Linked DNA regions of Homo sapiens: regions 1, 2, 4, 5 and 6 are each linked to region 3. The links are contacts of gene promoters, found by promoter capture Hi-C in blood cells and fetal thymus (Javierre and others, 2016). All regions are on one chromosome and are shown on one strand. Each heading gives the region's core, a stretch centred on a gene start or on the middle of the fragment in contact. The rest is flanking DNA. Distances are from core to core; before and after follow the strand shown.

Region 1 (2,831 bases), core at 143-2,642, 1.2 Mb before region 3:
TCAATAGGAAGACTTTAAAGGCTTCACAGATGAGGAGACACTGGAACTAACTCTTAAGAAGGAGTTGGGTTTGGAAAAAAGATTATTAGGAGAGTATGTTTCAGATAGGCAGCAAAGCATGTGCAAAGATGCAGAGCTAGAGACCAGTGTAGCTGTTTACGGAACTGTAATGTATCCAGGGGGTGATGCATAGGTCTGATGAAGTTGGAACAGGTGAGGTTGGGGAGTTCAGCAAGAGCCAATCCCCGGGGTCCCAGGTGCAACCTTTAGGAGGTTGGACACAATTCTGTAGTTAATTAGGACTCTCTGAGAGTTGTGAGGTTCAGGAAAAGAAGAGAGAATTGAAGTGGATGCCTTTTGTTGCACTTTGTGCTGTTATGTTTATTTTGAAGAGAAAAAATATGAATACATCAGAAACTAAGCTTTCATGAGATTGACATTAGACTGCAGTTTCTGTACATTCAAATAGAATATTATGAGCTAATTCTATTTAGACATGTGGTATATTTTTAACTCTGTGATTCCTCTTCCAATGTTCTCAATCCGCAGGAAACTCATTTAGCCTGAAGGTTCTGAACCAATTACACAGTTTTATAAGGTCAAAATAAAAGTTGGGAGTCATTTTATTTTTATCTGTACTGGTAGAAATTACAGAATCAAACTGCTTTAATAAGAAAAAACACCAGGATGAGAAAAGTGAAAATAGAAGTGTCAGCACCATCAGAGATTTCTGCTGCGTCTTGGATGCCGGCAGATGAGACCAGGGTTGGGCTGTGAAGTCCTTTGACAACCCCGTCTATATCCCTGAACAAGTTACCAGGGCTTCAAGAGGGATAGACATGAAACACAACATCCTTCCACTCTTATTAAGATTTAATCATGCTTTCAACAGGATTGCAATGTTATTAAATTAGATTTTTTTTCTTCCTTAAAAAGGGATTTAACTTTTGCTTTCCTGACATCATAATCAACATGGAACAGATGCAAAGGGGAATTGGGTGACCACTGGTAATATGGACCTATACTTAACATGTAGCATGTGAAGTTACTAAAATGGAAATTAATTCCTTTTATTACTATCGTGCCCTATCAATTAATTTGGTTGGAGATGCTTATGAATATGCAATCATTCCTCCCAGCTGCCCACCCCTTATTCTACGTGTGTGGAAAGCACTGGTGAAGCAATAGGTAAAATTTTATATATTTTTTTGCTAGTTTTGCTAGCACTGTTCCTCTTTGCTTCCTAACAATAATGGATAATATTGATAACTAATAGTTATTAAAATCTTCCCATGTCCCAAGCACTTTTGTAAGTACTTCATATTTATTGTTTTATTCAACCTCGACAATAAATTATTAAGATGGGTACTTTTATTATCCCTGTAGAAAGAAGAGAAAAATGGGACAGAAAAAGGTGAGGAAATCTTTTCTAGGTGGCCCAGGCATTCTGACCCCTGTACTCTTCACTACCGGGCCACACTGCCTCTTACTGGCTCCAGGTGCAAGGACTTGGGGAGAGGCCAAAGTCTCAGATGTCAAACTCCTGTAGGCTGAAAAAGAATGTGGGGGACGGGGGATGGAACAGAAGGCTCTGAGCGGGGGTCAAGTATTTTCAAATATAGGTTCTGTTATTATTTTGGTATGGCAAGGCCAACAGATCAGGAGATGACTCCCATTGAAAAGATAGCTTGTTACACTCACAGACCCCAAGACAAAGTGCCATGCCTTGTGGGGGTGCACACTCAAGGCACCAGGATTGCTCAGGAGGTAGAGGGAAGGCAGGACCCTGATCAAGAGCCTTTATTGTGGTTTCTGTGGGAAGGAACAGGTGAGGCAGTTTGGCTGGTTTAGATAATTTAGCAGGCTCTGGGGAATAGAGGCTGTCCCCACTGTCTGGTTCCTGGCTCAGGTATAGGGGCAAGTGGATAAATGGGCTAGAGTAGATAAAGGAGGTGGTTGGGGATATGGATTCTAGAGCGATTGGTTAACATTTGAAAGGTGAGCTCCTGAGAGAGTTTGTTACTATCTCTAGGAATTAGCTAAGCCTGGGAATGGAGTAGCAGTCTGCAGTAACAGCAAGGCCCCAGACATCAAAGCATCAGAAATACAGAAACTAAAGAGACATAGTTAACAGAGTCGGGGCTTAGTGGGGTTGGTGTGGGGAGCAGAGTGGGCTGTGGAGGCTCCCTAGGGAAGGCAAGGAGGGTGGGATGGCCAGTAAGAAATTAAGACCCGAACGTACATATGATGGTCTCCATTGAGGGATGGGGAATTGGAGACACTGAAATTAAGCGTTGAAGTATCTTTGGTCTTTTGATATTATTCATAGCACATATTTAACTTTCTACATGTATTAAGCTTTGCAGGGAAGGGTGTTATGACTCATCATTGCAGCTGGGCATTGCTTCCTTGGGAGCAGGGACCTTCCTTTGTGTTAATCCACCTTGCACTACCCTGAAGATCTGATGTGAGGCTTGCTCTCCCAGAATGGAAGGGCTCTGTTTCACCTGCAGTTTTTAAATCCTGGCCCCAATAACACCCCATCAGGGCAGGTCTCTCTTTAAGTGCCAGTTGCATGCTTTGGATTTGGTAAAAAAAGGAGCTTATTAAACCCAGGTGAGAGGAAGCCCTGGTGAAGAACCACGGTCATGGCTGAGTGCTCAGTTGGTAACCGCTGATTCACAAATGTTTCCTTTTCTCTTTCCTTTAAAAAAGGCAAGAGAAATTATGTGACAGGAACCAAGATAGTACTACAGGTTTGTTTTCTAATCAAGTACCTAGATAACAAGGTGATCTGTACGTTGTGTGGAGGCTGTTTAGTTGCCAATCCA
Region 2 (2,962 bases), core at 12-2,511, 1.4 Mb after region 3:
TCTAAAGGACCAGTGAGAGTGCTGTGCAACCTTGGAAGAGGGCAGGAGGGAAGGTCTAGGGCCATCTTACAGGAGTGGAGGCATTCGATCCAGCAGAGCTCAAAGGCTGAAGTGTGCTTGAAGCCCAAGAGAGTGGGACAGTGGAGGGCAGTGCATGGGGAAAGATAGATGGGTCCCAGGTTGTGGACGACATCACAAACGGACTAAGGATTTAGACTTCATCCAGAGGCAATGGGATCCGTCCAAGGGTTTTCAGTAGGGACTAACCTGATCAGACTTAGAGAGGGGACTCTAGAGCAGAAAAAGAATGGCCTAGAAGGGACATCACAGTGGCAGTTAGACCAGACCCACCAGGAGAGAGCTAGCTAACAAGGCTGGCTGGGGCAATAATGAAGAGGAAGGAAGGAGAGGAGTCTCCATGGCCCACGGACAGATCTCAGTGAGGAGGGAGGAGGAGTTCACGGGGTCTCTCAGCTCCCTTCAGCTCTGACATTCTGGGATTGTAGATTTCCTCCAAGACCCTCCACGTGGCCACAGCTGGGCAGCATGCACACTTTGAGGATCTTATTCCAGCTCCTTGGAGCTCATGAAGCAAAAAGCTTCCCTGGGGGGAGTTTGGAAGTCTCTTCATTGGCTGTGCTGTTTCCTCCCATCTCTCTCCAAAAAGTCAGGGGAATTACAATCAAAGCTAGAGCCAGGCCTGGTCAGGGACAAGGAGGGGCGGAGGCCATTCTCTAAATCCAAGGGGATCTGCATCCCCACCAGATAGCTTCATGCTCTCAGCTTCCATCAATCACACTCATGGCCTCCATCCCAACTGCATGCAGCAATCTCTGCTGTAAACACTGTTTGTTGCTCCAAGAGGTTCATCATACTTGGAGAGGCTCTGCCACAAAGCATGCTGGGAGCTTGATGAGGTTGGACCAAGGGAGGATGAGGCAGCAGACTTAGGACTGGGTGATAAACAAGTAAGAGATGCTGTCCCTTCTGGAGAAAGTGTGCCAAAGGAAGAAAGCAGAAGGGAGCTAGTATTTATTGAGGGCCTTCTCCTGGCTGGGTGCTTTGTAGGTATCCTCCTAATCTGTCATATCAACAACCCAGCAAGGGAGCTTTTGTTACTATCATTTTGCCAATGATAACGTTGAAAATTAGAATGTTAAGTGATTTGCCTAATTTCTACAGGGATTAAATGGCATGAGCGGATTCTGACCCAAATTCATTAGCCTCCAAAACCTGTGCATTCATTTATTTATTTATTTATTCATCCAACAAAAATATTTCATGGGCCTACTATGTGCCAGGCACTGTATCAGAGACCAGAGATCCAAGACACATACATTTCTCAGCCATTTCATGGGAGAGACAAACAATATCAAGTTAATAAATGAACAAGATAACTCCAGGTGGTGATACATTGTGAAGCATATAAAATAAGGTGAGCCGATCTAGAGCCAGGTTGTTCAAATGCGGCCTAGATTCCAAATCTTGCCCATGGTCTGTCTTTGTGTGGAAGTGAAAGCTAAGAATGGTTTTTATATGTTTAAAGGGTTGTAAAACAAACAAAAGAAAATATGCAAGAGAGATAGTATATGTCTCACAAAGTCTAAAATATTTACTATCTGAGCAGACAAAGTTGTCAGCCCCTAGTTAAGAGACTGAAGGGGCATCCTTGGTAGTGGATGGTGGAGAGGAAGGACAGGAGGCTCCCAGGCCCACTGACAGGCCTTGGTGAGGAAGGAGGGCAAAGGGGGATTGGGAGGGTTACAGAGTCTTTCAGGGAAGAGACTCTAAGTGGAGGTGATTTTGAACTGAGACCTAATGATGGAAAAGAACCACCAGCTGAAGAGACCCACAGAATGAGAACTCCAGGTAGAAGGAACAGCAAATGAATGTGCAAAGGCTTTGAGGTAGAAACAAGCTTAGCATGTTCAAGAAACAAAAAGAAGACCAATGTCCCTCGAGTGCAGGAAACAAGAGGGAAAGTGCTGCCAGCTGAGCTCAGGGGCAAGCAGGAAGCAGGTGACATAAGACTTTCTGGGCCAAGACGAGGAGTGTCCTTTCCACTAGGCCCTGCCCTGTGGTGTGGCAAAATCAAATGAGAATCTAGTGGATGTCAGTCTGGCTGGGGTGTCAGTATGTCAGTATCACAGTCTAGTGGTTCAAGGACAGTCATCAGAATCTGGGTGCAAGAGACACTTGAGTCAAACAGGTGGTAGCACCAACTCCCAGATGATGTGGTCATTTAGCTTAGGACCGTCCCCAGTGGTCAGAGGGTACCAGGAAGATGCTCCAGGATGAACAGGGTTTCAGGAGCTTGGCAGGCTGTCAGGACTCTTGCCAAACGAACTGGGATTCAAGGTAGGGCTTGAGCTCCAACAGGAAATGGAGAAATAAATACGACAAACCACGAATGACAGATGATGTGATGGAGTTGATGGTTAAAAACAGAGACTTCCTGAGCGTTTGGCTACCCTGGCCTTACCGCTCCACATCAAGCCCTGGGACCATGCCACATATACTGGCCTCCTGCCCACCGTGTATGCCCTATTCTGGTCAGGTAAGACTCAGGAAATGAGTGGGGCCGATCCAGGGAGAGGAGAGCAACAGCGACTCCTCCTGGAAGGAGCTGGAGAGGTAGATGCTGGTAAAACTGCAGAAAGTGAGTTTACATGGCTAATCACTGCTGCATCCGTGGTATGGCCATCTGTGCAAGCACGCTACAGGGGACTTATCCACTTTCACAGGTAAATTCCTATATGATCTGCTTGCCCAATTCCTGGCCATGGGGAGGGAGAGGAGAGAATCATCCGTGTGGATCAACTGTAACATTTTGTACTTTGGCGACCACTTAGTTTAAAATGCCTGTTCTCCTAAGCGTGTCCCCAGGCAAAATGTGTGCTGTAATTTGATTTTTTAAAAACAACTTTTATTGTTTTTTTTCTTATTATAAGAGCAACACATG
Region 3 (3,090 bases), core at 381-2,880:
TTCAGAAATAGGCCCCCCAACTGACTGGGAGCAGAGTCTACACAGCAGTGTTGGCCAAACAGAGAGTCATGAAGTCAAGAAAGTGCTACCATTTATTTAATTCAATGGCATGTCATGGCTCAGAACAGAATGGAAAATATCAGCACGATTACACAAGGTAAGAGTGAGTACTGCTTTGGGGAGTTTTTCTTTTAGCTGATGTGTATGTGTGTTGAGGAAGGATGTAAAAGGTACATCTTACTGTGAGTCATTCATTAATAAAGTTTAAAATACATAGACCTCAAAGGCTTTTATAAAACCCAAACTGCCAGTCCCTGGGCCAGAAGCATTGATGCAGTGTTTTGTCTGGGACTTGAATCCTGTATTTTTGATAGATTCCCAGGCAGCTCTGGTGATCAGCCAGGTTTGGGAATCACCTGTTAGAGGAAATGGCCCTCAGGCGGGGTCTCCTCACCTGTGCTCCACCCCGCCTCTCCCTGGTCAGGACAGGAGAAGATTTCTAAGAACTTGACAAAGCAAGAAAAGTCACACCGGTTACACATAAAGCAGGGCGCAGGCCACCCACTCTGCCCATCCCCAACCCCGGGAGAGCTGAAAGCCCCAAAACTGGCAACTGAGGTTTGGGTTTCCATCTCCAGCTCTGTCAGAAAAACAAACAAACAAAAATAACCCCAGCAAAATAAAATCACTTTAGAGTCAGCCAGATCTGGGTTCCAACCCTGGCTCTTCTAGTTACTACCTATGTGACCATGGGCAGGTGTTACCATCTCTCTGAGACTCAGTTTCCTCACTTTTTTTTTTTTTTTTGAGACGGAGTCTCACTCTGTCCCCCTGGAGTGCAGTGGCATGATCTCGGCTCACTGCAACGTCTGCCTCCCAGGTACAAGCAATTCTCCTGCCTCAGCCTCCCAAGTAGCTGGGATTACAGGCACCCACTACCACACCTGGCTAATTTTTTTTATATTTTTGGTAGAGACAGGGTTTCACCATGTTGGCCACGCTGGTCTCAAACTCCTGACCTCAAGTGATCCACACACCTCGACCTCCCAAAGTGCTGGGATTGCAGGTGTGAGCCACTGCACCCGGCCATTCTTCACCTTTTAAAATGGGAATCCAAATGCCTCAATAAACACCAGGCCAAAAACAGGGTGCTCCTTTATGTTAACTCCTTTTCTGGCCTCCACTAAATCCCCCTGTGGGCTTAGGCATGCTGTCCTGCTGGGCTTTGGTTTCCCTGACCGTGAGAAAGGGTTTGTGAAATTAAGTAGCCGTCTGCAGGGGCGGAGCTGGCAGAGGTTGTTACTAACGGGGATCACACTGTCCAGCCTGCATGGTCTGTACTAACAGGAGCCTGCCATCCCCATTCCTTCACAGCTCCTGCTGCCTGGGCACAAATGCCCTGGAGAGTGAGTGACTGTCAGACCAGCCGGAGGGGAGCAACGGGAAGAGCCGCTTGCTGAGAAGAGGTGGGCTTGGCAGGACTGCAGGTGGAGTACTCTCCCCAGTCCCCTGCAGGTGCTGGTCTAAGCCAAGCTGGGAGGATGGCGGCCGGCCCTGGCCCAGCCCCAGGCAAGGGAGGAGCCTCGGCCCAGATGGGGCAGGTGGGGAGCCTGGGCTCAGGTGTGTCCTGTGGGAAGTGATTGCTCCCTGGCTAGCAGAGACAGAGGAAAGCGGATTGTTGGCCCCAGGACCCAGCTCTGAGAGGCTGGGCTTGTTTCCCTGACTCTGCCTTGGAGGAAAGCAATGGAAGGGGTAAGGCTGTCTCAGTTTTGTTGCTGGCTTTCTGTGTGTCTTTTCTTGCAGGACAAGTTCCTCCCACTTGAGAGCCCTGGGGAAAAACTGCTTGTGTGTGCTGCCTCCTGGGCAGGAATAAACATGTCAGGTGTCAGCCAGTGCATTTCTGCTCACACTGGCTTTGCTCAGGGCGGGTGGGAGGGAAGAGGAGTGTGCCATGTCCTGTGCCACCTGGAGTGTGAGGGGACAGGAGGTGCTGAGGAATGACAGCATGTGGCCTAGCTCTACCCAGCCAGCTGGACTCCTGACCTATTCCCAGATCCTCCGTTGAAGCGCCCGCTGGCTTCTCTCTGTGTTTACTTGCCCTTGTGGACTGTATCTGGCCTCTGCAGTGATTAGCGGGCCTCCTGGTCAGAGAGCAGTGCTTGGTGCTAGGAAGCCGGCTGTGCATTGCTCTTTTGTGGCTTGTGGCTCTAGACCGGGTTCTGCTCCTTGTTAACTGTGTGGCCTGGGGCAAGTGTGTCCGTCATCCTGAGCCCTGGGTCCCTCACTCATGAAAGAGAATTACTGGTACAATAACTACTTTGTGAGACTATCAGAGGTGCTTGTATAAATAGAGATGTATGGAAAAGTATCCTGCCCTACGCCAGCATTCCCTGCCCCTTGGATGGCTGAGTGCTGTTGGCACAGTTGGAGACGTCTTGCCTGACTGACCACATCTTCCTTTTTCCTTCTCCAATTCTCCACTCTCCTCTATTTCCGTCTTCAGTAAGTCAGTTTCTTTTGATGTGCGTGTGCATGTGTGTGTGTGTGTGTGTGTGTGTGTGTGTGTGTGTGTGTGTGTTGCTTCCATACTTTTTATTATATATTTGGAGTCAAGTCATTTTCTCCCATGAATCATGTGGCTTCTCACCCACAAGTTTGGTTTTAAATCAGGGCAGAGGATCCATTTTAGCTTTTGCTGGTCAGGAAAAGCTCCCCTTTGTCTCAGGGCAAAGGGCATGTTTCTCTCTGTGGCAAATCACTCCAGTCCAAATAGCTGAGTTTTGGAAAGGGGTGAGCAGGGGCATGTTGGTATGACTTCATCTCCCTCCTCTGAGTTCTCCCCGCCACCCCCACCTCGACCATACCACTTAGCAATTTTTAAGAAACTCCTCCTTGACGGGAAAGTGCCAGGCTGAATAGATTTAGCGTGCTTGTAAGAAAAGGAAACTGACTTACATTTTCCCCATCTCTGATGGGCCAGGATCCGCACTGGCATCCATTATTTCAGTTTATCTGATGACAATACAGTGTGGTCTATGCCATTGCCCCATTTATTGTAGATGAGGTAACTGACAATGTTATCACTTGCTC
Region 4 (3,094 bases), core at 105-2,604, 1.7 Mb before region 3:
GATATTGAACAGTATAATCCTTTTATACACTTGCTTCATCTGTCCCATCTCTGTTTTTCTCAGAAGTATTTTGATATAAAGCCCAGATATCAGGGCCTTATAGGGGAGGAGAAAATAATTTTCTCTCTATGCTTCATAGTTCTTAGTTGAGATGAACCCCTGTATTAAAAGACAGATTAACAAGAGGGAAATGGAAGCTTTTTAACATGTATACTTCCTGTATACCTGGGAGATACCCATGGAATGAATAATTCTCCAAGAGGTGGCTTTGAGTTCAGGTGTAAATACCATCTTCAACTGAAACTAAGACAGAAAGGTGCAGGGAAAGCCGCCACGTTGTAGAGAGGTGGTCAGGAAAAGCAGTGAGCAAGGGTAAGGTTTGTTATGTAGATTGTACCTTCTTTGTTGATAAGAGTTTCCAGTGATTTAGAGTCATCCTTCTCTTTCTGGTACAGAGAGGGAGACATACTTGCAAATTAGAGATTTCCTTCGTAGATACATATTTCTCTGAGAAAACGGTAACTTCTTCTTCCTGTTTTCAGAACTTCCCCTATGTCTGCTATTGCCCAAAATAATTAGTAGAAAATAACTCTTATGCTAAAGAGGCATATTTGGGGTGGCATAGTCTGGTCTCCTGGAGTCTTATTTTGGAATGATATGTCCTGAACTCCATCAACTTTAGTATGCATTTCAGAAAGTAGTATCATTTTCTTCCATAATCATAACATTATCATGCCTAAGGAAACTCATAGTAATTCCTTAAAATTAAATATTCTGTCTACATCAGATTTCTGTATCTCAGCAGTGTTACAGTTGGCCTGTTTAAATTAGGATACTTCATGATCCACACATTGCATTTGGTCCTTACGTCCCTAAAGTCCTTTTGACTTTAGGACAGTACCCCCCTCCCTTTTGTTTTGTTTGTTTTAAAACTTGTCATTGAATTGGTGAGTACATATAATCCCACATTGTAGATTCTGGATTAACTTGATTGCTTCTTCGTGGTATTTCTAACTTGTTTCTATATATACCTGTAAATAGAGATTAAATTTTGGGAAGGATATTTTATAGGTGATGCAACTAAGCTTCATAGTGCTTTGCATTGGAAGTCTCTTAATACCTGGCTGCCCCACATCTGGTGATGCTGAAGGCCATCAGTGGGTTGGATGGTGATGGCCTGGTTCTTTGTTTGCAAAGGTGGTTTTCTTCCTTGTGGCCAGCAAGTGATTGTGGGGTGATAATTTAGCACCACCCTGCAAATAATCAGTTTTCAAACAACCTGAGAAATGTGTCTTCACGAGAAATCTATGTAGAATCTATTTAGAACTCAGACCAGCCAAATTAACCCTAATGGAATAAAAGATGTTGCAGACACTTTTATCTTATTCAGGAATAGACTTAAGAGGTAGGTAAGAGAGACTTTTAAAAAATCAGAACGGTAAGTGTACAAGAGTTGGAAAAACAGAGTTGAAAGGAAAAATGAGGATAATCTTATTTAAAAGATTATTGAATGTCTAAGTGCCTTTAATAACTCCACAAGGACCCTCATGTAAACAAAATTCAGCAATAGCAACAAAACAAAGCCTCTGAAATGCTCATTGTTCCCCAGTGAGATAAGCTTTAAAGAGCAGAAATACGAAAAACAAAACCAAATCTCAAGTCAAACTTAAAAATGTTACTTTATGGGAGAGGACAGGCAAGGCGGCAAGAACATAGAAGCAGTGCCACCTGAAGCTGGCATGATAAGGTTGATTTAACTGCACTGAAAGTGACAGAATCTGAAAGAACGACTTTACAAATGTAAGATAAATCCATTTCAGAAAATTGTTAAACTTGTGAATTCAACAGAGAAGCTGTAAAACTTTCGGTGGAGGCTGTAAAGAGCAGAATTGATACCTCAGAGCAAAGACTCATTGATGCGGAAGATAGAGGAACATAGCACAACCAAATTAAAATGCCCAAAGCCAAAAAAAAAAAGTCTAAAAAAATGAAAGAATATTGAAAAGGCACCAGGAAATCCAAGCTGCATATAACAATGGGAAAGATACATTTGTACATGTCTTCATTTCTTTGATTGTGGTTTCTATATCATATTTTTTTATTTAGTTAACATTTCTCAAGATGGGTTTTTAGGAGATTCCCAGAGTATCATCCATGGGAAGCCCTGAAATGACAAGCTTAGATATTTAAACTTATGAAGTGTTTAATCTTCATTGCAAAGACAGGCTTTTACAAGCTACCTAGGTAAAAAGGCATACAAGAGTAAGAATGACTCTGGACCTTTCTTTTCATAAGCATAAGGAAGATATTTCTTTCCTCCTAAGTTCTTATACTTCTTGCTGTTGGAGGAAGTGTAAGAGTTTTGGAGGAAAGAAACAAAACAAAAAACAGTGGAACTAATACACTTTGGTATGATATCTACAAAAACTAACTTTTTTTTTTTTTATGGTGGAAGATCCTTAGCAAATGAAACACATAGGACAATATGTCAGTGAAGTTCTTGGTTGCAACAGTGCTCTTTCCAGAATCTACTGACAATCAGGAATTAGATAAAATATACAGTTTTGTTTGTTTAAATATAATTGTAACTAGCTTGCACCCTGCCATTGTTAGAAAACCACAGATCAAGTAAGGAACTACCAAAAAATTCAGCTGAATAATATGAAAAATAAAATTTAAGTGGCATGAGAAACTAAATCCTAAAAAAAGGAATGTATTATTATTATTATTATACTTTAAGTTTTAGGGTACATGTGCACAACATGCAGGTGTGTTACATATATATACATGTGCCATGTTGGTGTGCTGCACCCATTAACTCGTCATTTAACATTAGGTATATCTCCTAATGCTATCCCTCCCTCCTCCTCCCACCCCACAACAGACCCCTGTGTGTGATGTTCCCCTTCCTGTGTCCATGTGTTCTCATTGTTCTGTTCCCACCTATGAGTGAGAACCTGCAGTGTTTAGTTTTTTGTCCTTGCAATAGTTTGCTGAGAATGATGGTTTCCAGCTTTATCCATGTCCCTACAAAGGACATGAACTCATCCTTTTTTATGGCTGCATAGTATTCCATGCTGTATATGTGCCACAT
Region 5 (2,715 bases), core at 23-2,522, 1.8 Mb before region 3:
ATTATGAGGCGTCAGCGGTGTTACCACTTTATATCCTGAGTATTTTTATCACTACGAGTTGGGTAGCAACTGCTCAAACATTTTCATCCATCACCTTGTGTTCTCTTCTGTGGGGTTCATACATGGAAAACAAAATGAAAAAAAAAACCAAAAAACAGAAAAAACAGGCAAAAGGGTAGAATCCATTTAAAGATGACTAAGGTGCCTTAGTCATGCTGGATTTGAGGTCCAGCAGTGGGATGGGTTCTGCATTTTCTGGGCAAGTGATTTTTCTGTCAGGCAAACAGGACTAGGTGCATCATCCACAGCCCTGCCTGAGGGGAGCCAGGAGAGACAGGTCCAGCTCCAGCCCACACCCAGGACCTTTCTCCACTTTGAAAGATGCCTGTGAATTGCACTTCCGTTTCACCCAGGAAATCAATGCAGCCCAGCTTCTCTGCCCAGGGCCCAGCGGAGGAAGATATATCATACTCTGGGCAGACCCAGAATGCAGTTAGTTACCGTCTCCTCCTTAGGAGGGAGAACAACAATAGAACCAAAATAGCAATGCTAAAAAGCAGACATTTGGAGGGCTTGGGGGCCTTTTGTTGCTGCAAAAGGAGAAGGAAAGGATTTTGCCATGTCCCTGGGGTTTACGCGTTCAAGAGCCCTCCCTCCTGATCCAGGGACCTGGGACAGGCTGTGGGACCTGCAGGGCTCTATGTGGCATGAAGTTCCTTCTGGTTTTGTAGAGAGACAGGGCTGTACAATAGGAGCCCTGGATTTCTGGTCAAAAGCTTTCTTGGTGAAATAGATCTGGACAGGAAGAGAAGAGAGAAAAGGCACTCTAGGCAGAAGGTGCCCCGGAAGCGGTGGCACAGTGCCAAGAATTGTAGATTTCCGTGAGGCTGGTGTGCATCGTGTGTGGCTAGGAGTCGGGGACCACAGAAGGGGATGTGGACATGGGGTCAGGTCCCCCAGGGTGTCCAATGCTATTTTAGAGAGGGGTGCTTTCATGTTCCTCATGGAAAGAGATTCAGGCAATCAACAGCCAACATCTTCAAATCCTAAAATGAAAAGGTTTCTCTAAGCCAGTAGTATTCAGACTTTTATTTAGTTAGAAATCGCTGTTGAAAACAAATCTTGCATTAAAACCAAGCATATAAAACAAGTAATAACCAAAAAATAGAAAAAACCCAACTGGATATCAACTGATAAATGGATAAATTAAACATGGTCTACCCATACAATGGAATTATTATTCAGCCACAAAGAGAAATAAAGCACTGACATATATTACAACATTAATGAGCCTTGAAAACATTATGCTTAGTGAAGAAGTCAGACATAAATGACCACATTTTGTATTATTCCATTTCTAGAAAATGTCCAGAATAAGCAAATCATAGATAGAAAAAGTAGATTAGAAGTTGCCAGAGTCTCAGGTGGGAAGAAGGGATTGGGGAGTGACTGCTAATGGATACAGGATGTCTTTTTGGGGTGATGACATGTTCTGGAATTAGTGGTGATGGTGACGGTTGTACAACCTTGTGAATATACTAAAAACCACTCCGGATACTAAAAACCACACTTAAAAGTGGTGAACTTGATGATCTATGAGTTACATCTAGAAAGAGAGAGAGACGGAGGGAGAGAGGGAAGGAAGGAAGGAACCAAGCAGAGCCGATTTGGCTGAAGGGAGGAGGCACTGGGAAGTACAGTGGCCCTTATGGTTGGCCCTGTTTATTTCCAATGTCTGCCCAATCTCTCACCCAAGTTTTAAGCTTGGCTTCCAGATCCCTGGGGAGCCAAGTAGGAGAAAAGATATAGACACCTCAAAATTGAGCATGTAAACTTTCACCTAATCCTCCAATTTTTCCCCACTCCAGAAAGGTTCTGCTTCACTTTCTCCAGAGACTGACCAGGCAGCGACTACCCTCTTGGGGGTGAGATGGTCAGTAGCCTGCTAAGGAAGCAGGAAGCCACTAAGGGATAACTACATCTTAAACCCACTTTCTCTCTCTCTCTCTCTCTCTCTCTCTCTCTCTCTCTCTGTGTGTGTGTGTGTGTGTGTGTGTGTGTGTGTGTGTGTGTGTGTGTGTGTGTGTTTGAGACAGTCTCACTGTGCCACCCAGGCTGGAGTGCAGTGGTGTGATTTCGGCTCACTGCAACCTCCATCTCCCAGGTTCAAGCGATTCTCCTGCCTCAGCCTCCTGAGTAGCTGGGATTACAGGCATTCACCACCACGCCTGGCTAATTTTTCTATTTTTAGTAGAGATGGGGTTTCAACATGTTGGCCAGGCTGGTCTCCAACTCCTGACCTCAAGTGATCCTCCCCCGGCAGCCTCCCAAAGTGCTGGGATTACAGGCGTGAGCCACCGTGCCTAGCCTTAAACCCACAACCCACCTTCTACCAGCTATCATCATTCTAGCCCCACTGGCATCCCCAATTCCAGATGTCCCTGGTGCTACAAATTCTTGAGCTTTGGGGGTTCCACAAGGTAAATCAGGTCACTTCTTGAGGGTCTGCTTCTCCCACTCTCCAGACCTGCTAAGTCAGACCCCATGCATTGATTCATTATTGTCACGTCTCTCAAAACAAAGCCCCCCTACTACCTTGCTGTGCTTGAGTGATGTTTCAGGAGGGCATGGGATTTCATTGTGTGTGACCAATCCATTAACCCAAATCCAGCATGCTTTTCTATAGTTTCTACATTCCCTTTGATTAGCATATAT
Region 6 (2,894 bases), core at 365-2,864, 1.5 Mb after region 3:
GTGCTGTTCCCAGGCAATGGGTGGCAAGGCATTCTGGTATGTGTGTAGATGTTCCAGTCCAATGCTGTGGTTCTACTTTTGAGGTCAGTGTCGGTTATTTCTCAATCCCATTCCATCAATGCTGTGGCAAGACAAAACCCCTTCCAGAGACCTCCAAATTATTCATGAAAAGTCATTCCTTCCAGGCTGTTGCAACTTTATGTCTTATTCTGCATTTGGGAGTATTTTGATGAGAGAGAGGGTGGTTAAATCAAGCACTACTGGAAAGCCACCATCATAACCCAGAAACTCCTCATTCTCAACCATTAAGAACCCTGCCCAGCCTTCCCTTGGTTTTAATCCCGCTGATGACATGGATTTGGTGTTTCTGGTTAGCCTGATGGTAAAAGCTCTTGTAGGAAGTCTGTTTTTTTTATTTTGCCACCAACTCTCTTCCAAACCAGATGCATTAATATAAGAGGTGACTGGTGAAGCTGTTTCCAGTCATGCAATTTCTCCAGAGCTCATCCATTCAGTCAGAAAATCTTGGTGCAAACCTACCATGTTCCAGGCCCTAGGTTGACCCTGAGATTCAAAGATAATTAGCACATCCATCCACACTTCTTCTAATGCCATGGAAGCCTTATCTTGTTTATGGCCTCTGTCTTATTCTGTATTTTAATGATGAACAGCTGGTCAACGTCATCTATATGATAATTCATCATTCAATCATTTATTTTTTTGCACAAAAATTTGTCCCTAGATAATCCTCAATGATGGATTTCTATTGGAATTCAGTTCAATATCCAGATGTGTAAGTATGTTTAGGAGAGTCACCAGACCCTTGGAACCAAACTTGTTTTAACTTGATTCAACTACAAAGACCTTTCTGAGACCCCGCTTAAGTTTAATATTGCTTTCCTGAGGCTTGTCTGTTCTCTAGTGCCTCTTATCATAGGTTCTTCCAAGCCACCTGTTATAGTTGACCCAGTTTCACTACCCAAGAACTGGAGAGTCATTTCCTGTTGTAAGTACTGGAAGAGATTTTAAGAAGATGATACAGAGCAGCTGTTTTCTCAAGCCACAGAAAGTAGAACAAAAGAAAGAGCCCTGGCCAGGAATGAAGAGACTTGGGTTCTTGTCTATGCAGACTCCACCTTGCTAAGTGGCTATCAGGAAGCTTCTTAAGTCTGGACCCATCACTATGTTCTCCCTCCAAACCTCACACCCAATCCTTCACCCAATCCTACCCCTTTTTCAGAGTTTTCTTTTCCAAGGTTTTTACTCAAGCTTTATGAAGGATTATAGGATCTAATTTCCACTGTGATGTTATTTTATGACCATGTGAGCCATTATTAGAAGTCAGTAGTTCTAGAAGGGACTTGAACAAATGCTCCATTTATACTTTCTTGCTCTAACAACATTTTCATTTCCTGAGCACTTATGCTGACTCCAGCCCTTTGCTGGGGACCAGAAAGACAAAGATGAAATAAGATTGGCCATCAATACTAAAGGGAGCTCTGGGAGTTCAGAGGGAAACCTAACCCATCCTGAGGGAAACAAGATAAACTTGGTAAGAGATAGCATTGCCTTAGCTGGCTCTGGAAAGGAGAGTGTGGATCATCTAGAAAGAAATAAGTGCTAAGCACAGGGAGCCATGAGCAACTGCACGGAGTTGTGAGTGGCATAACTAGGAACTTACCAGAAGTGTGAAGTTACTAGAAGAAAAACTTGGGAGGCTGGGACAGTCAGATGAGGATGACTAAGAGAAACAGAGTCGCGTTTCAAAGGCCTTGCAAGCCAAAAATGAGATCATTCCTCAGCCACAACCTTTTAATGGCTTCCTCTGCACCCAAATTAAGATCCAAATTCCAATTAATACTGAAAACATTGGACTGCTGCCTGCATTTCTTTCTTTTATCAGGTCTCTCAGAGGTTCTTTAGGGAAGTACAAATTATTCTGACTGTAGAGAAGCTTTATCTCCTCTATTTTTAGAGTATATGGAAATTATATGTAAGTACATTATTATTATTTCAGGCATATAAAAAGTATCAACAACAGTATAATAAGCATCTGCATAACTCTCACTTGTATTAAGGATTAAAATATTACAGATATACTTGATGTCGTCCTCCCTAATCTCATTCCCTTCCCTGCATCCCAGAGGAAACCACTGTCCTGAAGTTTATGTCATTCTCTTTCATATTTTTATATTTCTATCACATATGTATTTATAAAACAGTAATACTACTTTTGTGGGTTTTTAAACTTTAGCAAATAGCCTTGATTCTCCTAATGACTTGCTTCCTTCACTCAACATAGTTTTTGAGACTTACCCAATTGATATATGCAATCGAATTTCATTCATTCTAATGATGTATAGTATCATGAATACAGAAATACACAATTTATTTTAGCCATTCTCATAGGGATGAACATTTAGGTTATTTTCAAACCAAGCCTTGATTCTCCTAATGACTTGCTTCCTTCACTCAACATAGTTTTTGAGACTTACCCAATTGATATATGCAATCGAATTTCATTCATTCTAATGATGTATAGTATCATGAATACAGAAATACACAATTTATTTTAGCCATTCTCATAGGGATGAACATTTAGGTTATTTTCAAACCAGTCATGGTGGTGTGCACATGGAGTCCCAGGTACTTAGGAGGCCAAGGCAGGAGGATCACTTTACCCCAGGAGTTCAAGTCCAGCCTGGACAACATAGTGAGACCCCTGTCTCTAAAAATAAAAAATAGCTTATTTCCAATGTCTTTCTATTATAAACAAGGCTGCTATTTTTCTCTATTTCTCTATGCATGTATGCAAGATTTCTCTGAGAAATGTACCTAAGAGTGAGGTCCCTGGTGATAAGATCTATACATCTTCAACTTCACTAGCTGTCTTT

What was found. The method cuts DNA at HindIII sites, captures the fragments that hold promoters and counts their contacts. A CHiCAGO score of 5 or more calls a contact.
Region 1: a contact is called between a fragment that was not itself captured here and the fragment with the promoter of FYB2 in region 3, in 6 of 17 cell types (naive CD4 T cells, M2 macrophages, total CD4 T cells and 3 more). The highest score is 7.9, in naive CD4 T cells.
Region 2: a fragment that was not itself captured here is called in contact with the fragment with the promoter of FYB2 in region 3 in 4 of 17 cell types (M2 macrophages, M1 macrophages, naive B cells and 1 more); the score reaches 10.7 in M2 macrophages.
Region 4: a contact is called between a fragment that was not itself captured here and the fragment with the promoter of FYB2 in region 3, in 1 of 17 cell types (naive CD8 T cells). The highest score is 5.0, in naive CD8 T cells.
Region 5: a fragment that was not itself captured here is called in contact with the fragment with the promoter of FYB2 in region 3 in 1 of 17 cell types (naive B cells); the score reaches 6.1 in naive B cells.
Region 6: a contact is called between a fragment that was not itself captured here and the fragment with the promoter of FYB2 in region 3, in 1 of 17 cell types (M2 macrophages). The highest score is 10.9, in M2 macrophages.

The regions. Positions count from the first base shown.
Region 1 is chr1:58,038,346-58,041,176 of GRCh38, reverse strand. It overlaps a transcript of DAB1 not described here. Among named protein-coding and RNA genes, the nearest start is that of DAB1-AS1, 180 kb to the right of the region's middle. The HindIII fragment of the contact is 1,936 bases long and covers 425-2,360 here.
Region 2 is chr1:55,378,342-55,381,303 of GRCh38, reverse strand. No RefSeq gene overlaps it. Among named protein-coding and RNA genes, the nearest start is that of MIR4422, 150 kb to the right of the region's middle. The HindIII fragment of the contact is 1,319 bases long and covers 602-1,920 here.
Region 3 is chr1:56,817,944-56,821,033 of GRCh38, reverse strand. It overlaps FYB2 (FYN binding protein 2), which reads left to right and starts at 1,630. Exons shown (of 20, transcript NM_001004303.5): 1 at 1,630-1,752. The coding sequence starts at 1,744. The HindIII fragment of the contact is 7,052 bases long and covers 1-3,090 here.
Region 4 is chr1:58,495,053-58,498,146 of GRCh38, reverse strand. All of the region lies in intron 8 of OMA1 (OMA1 zinc metallopeptidase), which reads left to right. It also overlaps a transcript of DAB1 not described here. Among named protein-coding and RNA genes, the nearest start is that of OMA1, 50 kb to the left of the region's middle. The HindIII fragment of the contact is 533 bases long and covers 1,088-1,620 here.
Region 5 is chr1:58,647,897-58,650,611 of GRCh38, reverse strand. No RefSeq gene overlaps it. Among named protein-coding and RNA genes, the nearest start is that of MYSM1, 51 kb to the left of the region's middle. The HindIII fragment of the contact is 987 bases long and covers 779-1,765 here.
Region 6 is chr1:55,361,590-55,364,483 of GRCh38, reverse strand. No RefSeq gene overlaps it. Among named protein-coding and RNA genes, the nearest start is that of MIR4422, 140 kb to the right of the region's middle. The HindIII fragment of the contact is 685 bases long and covers 1,272-1,956 here.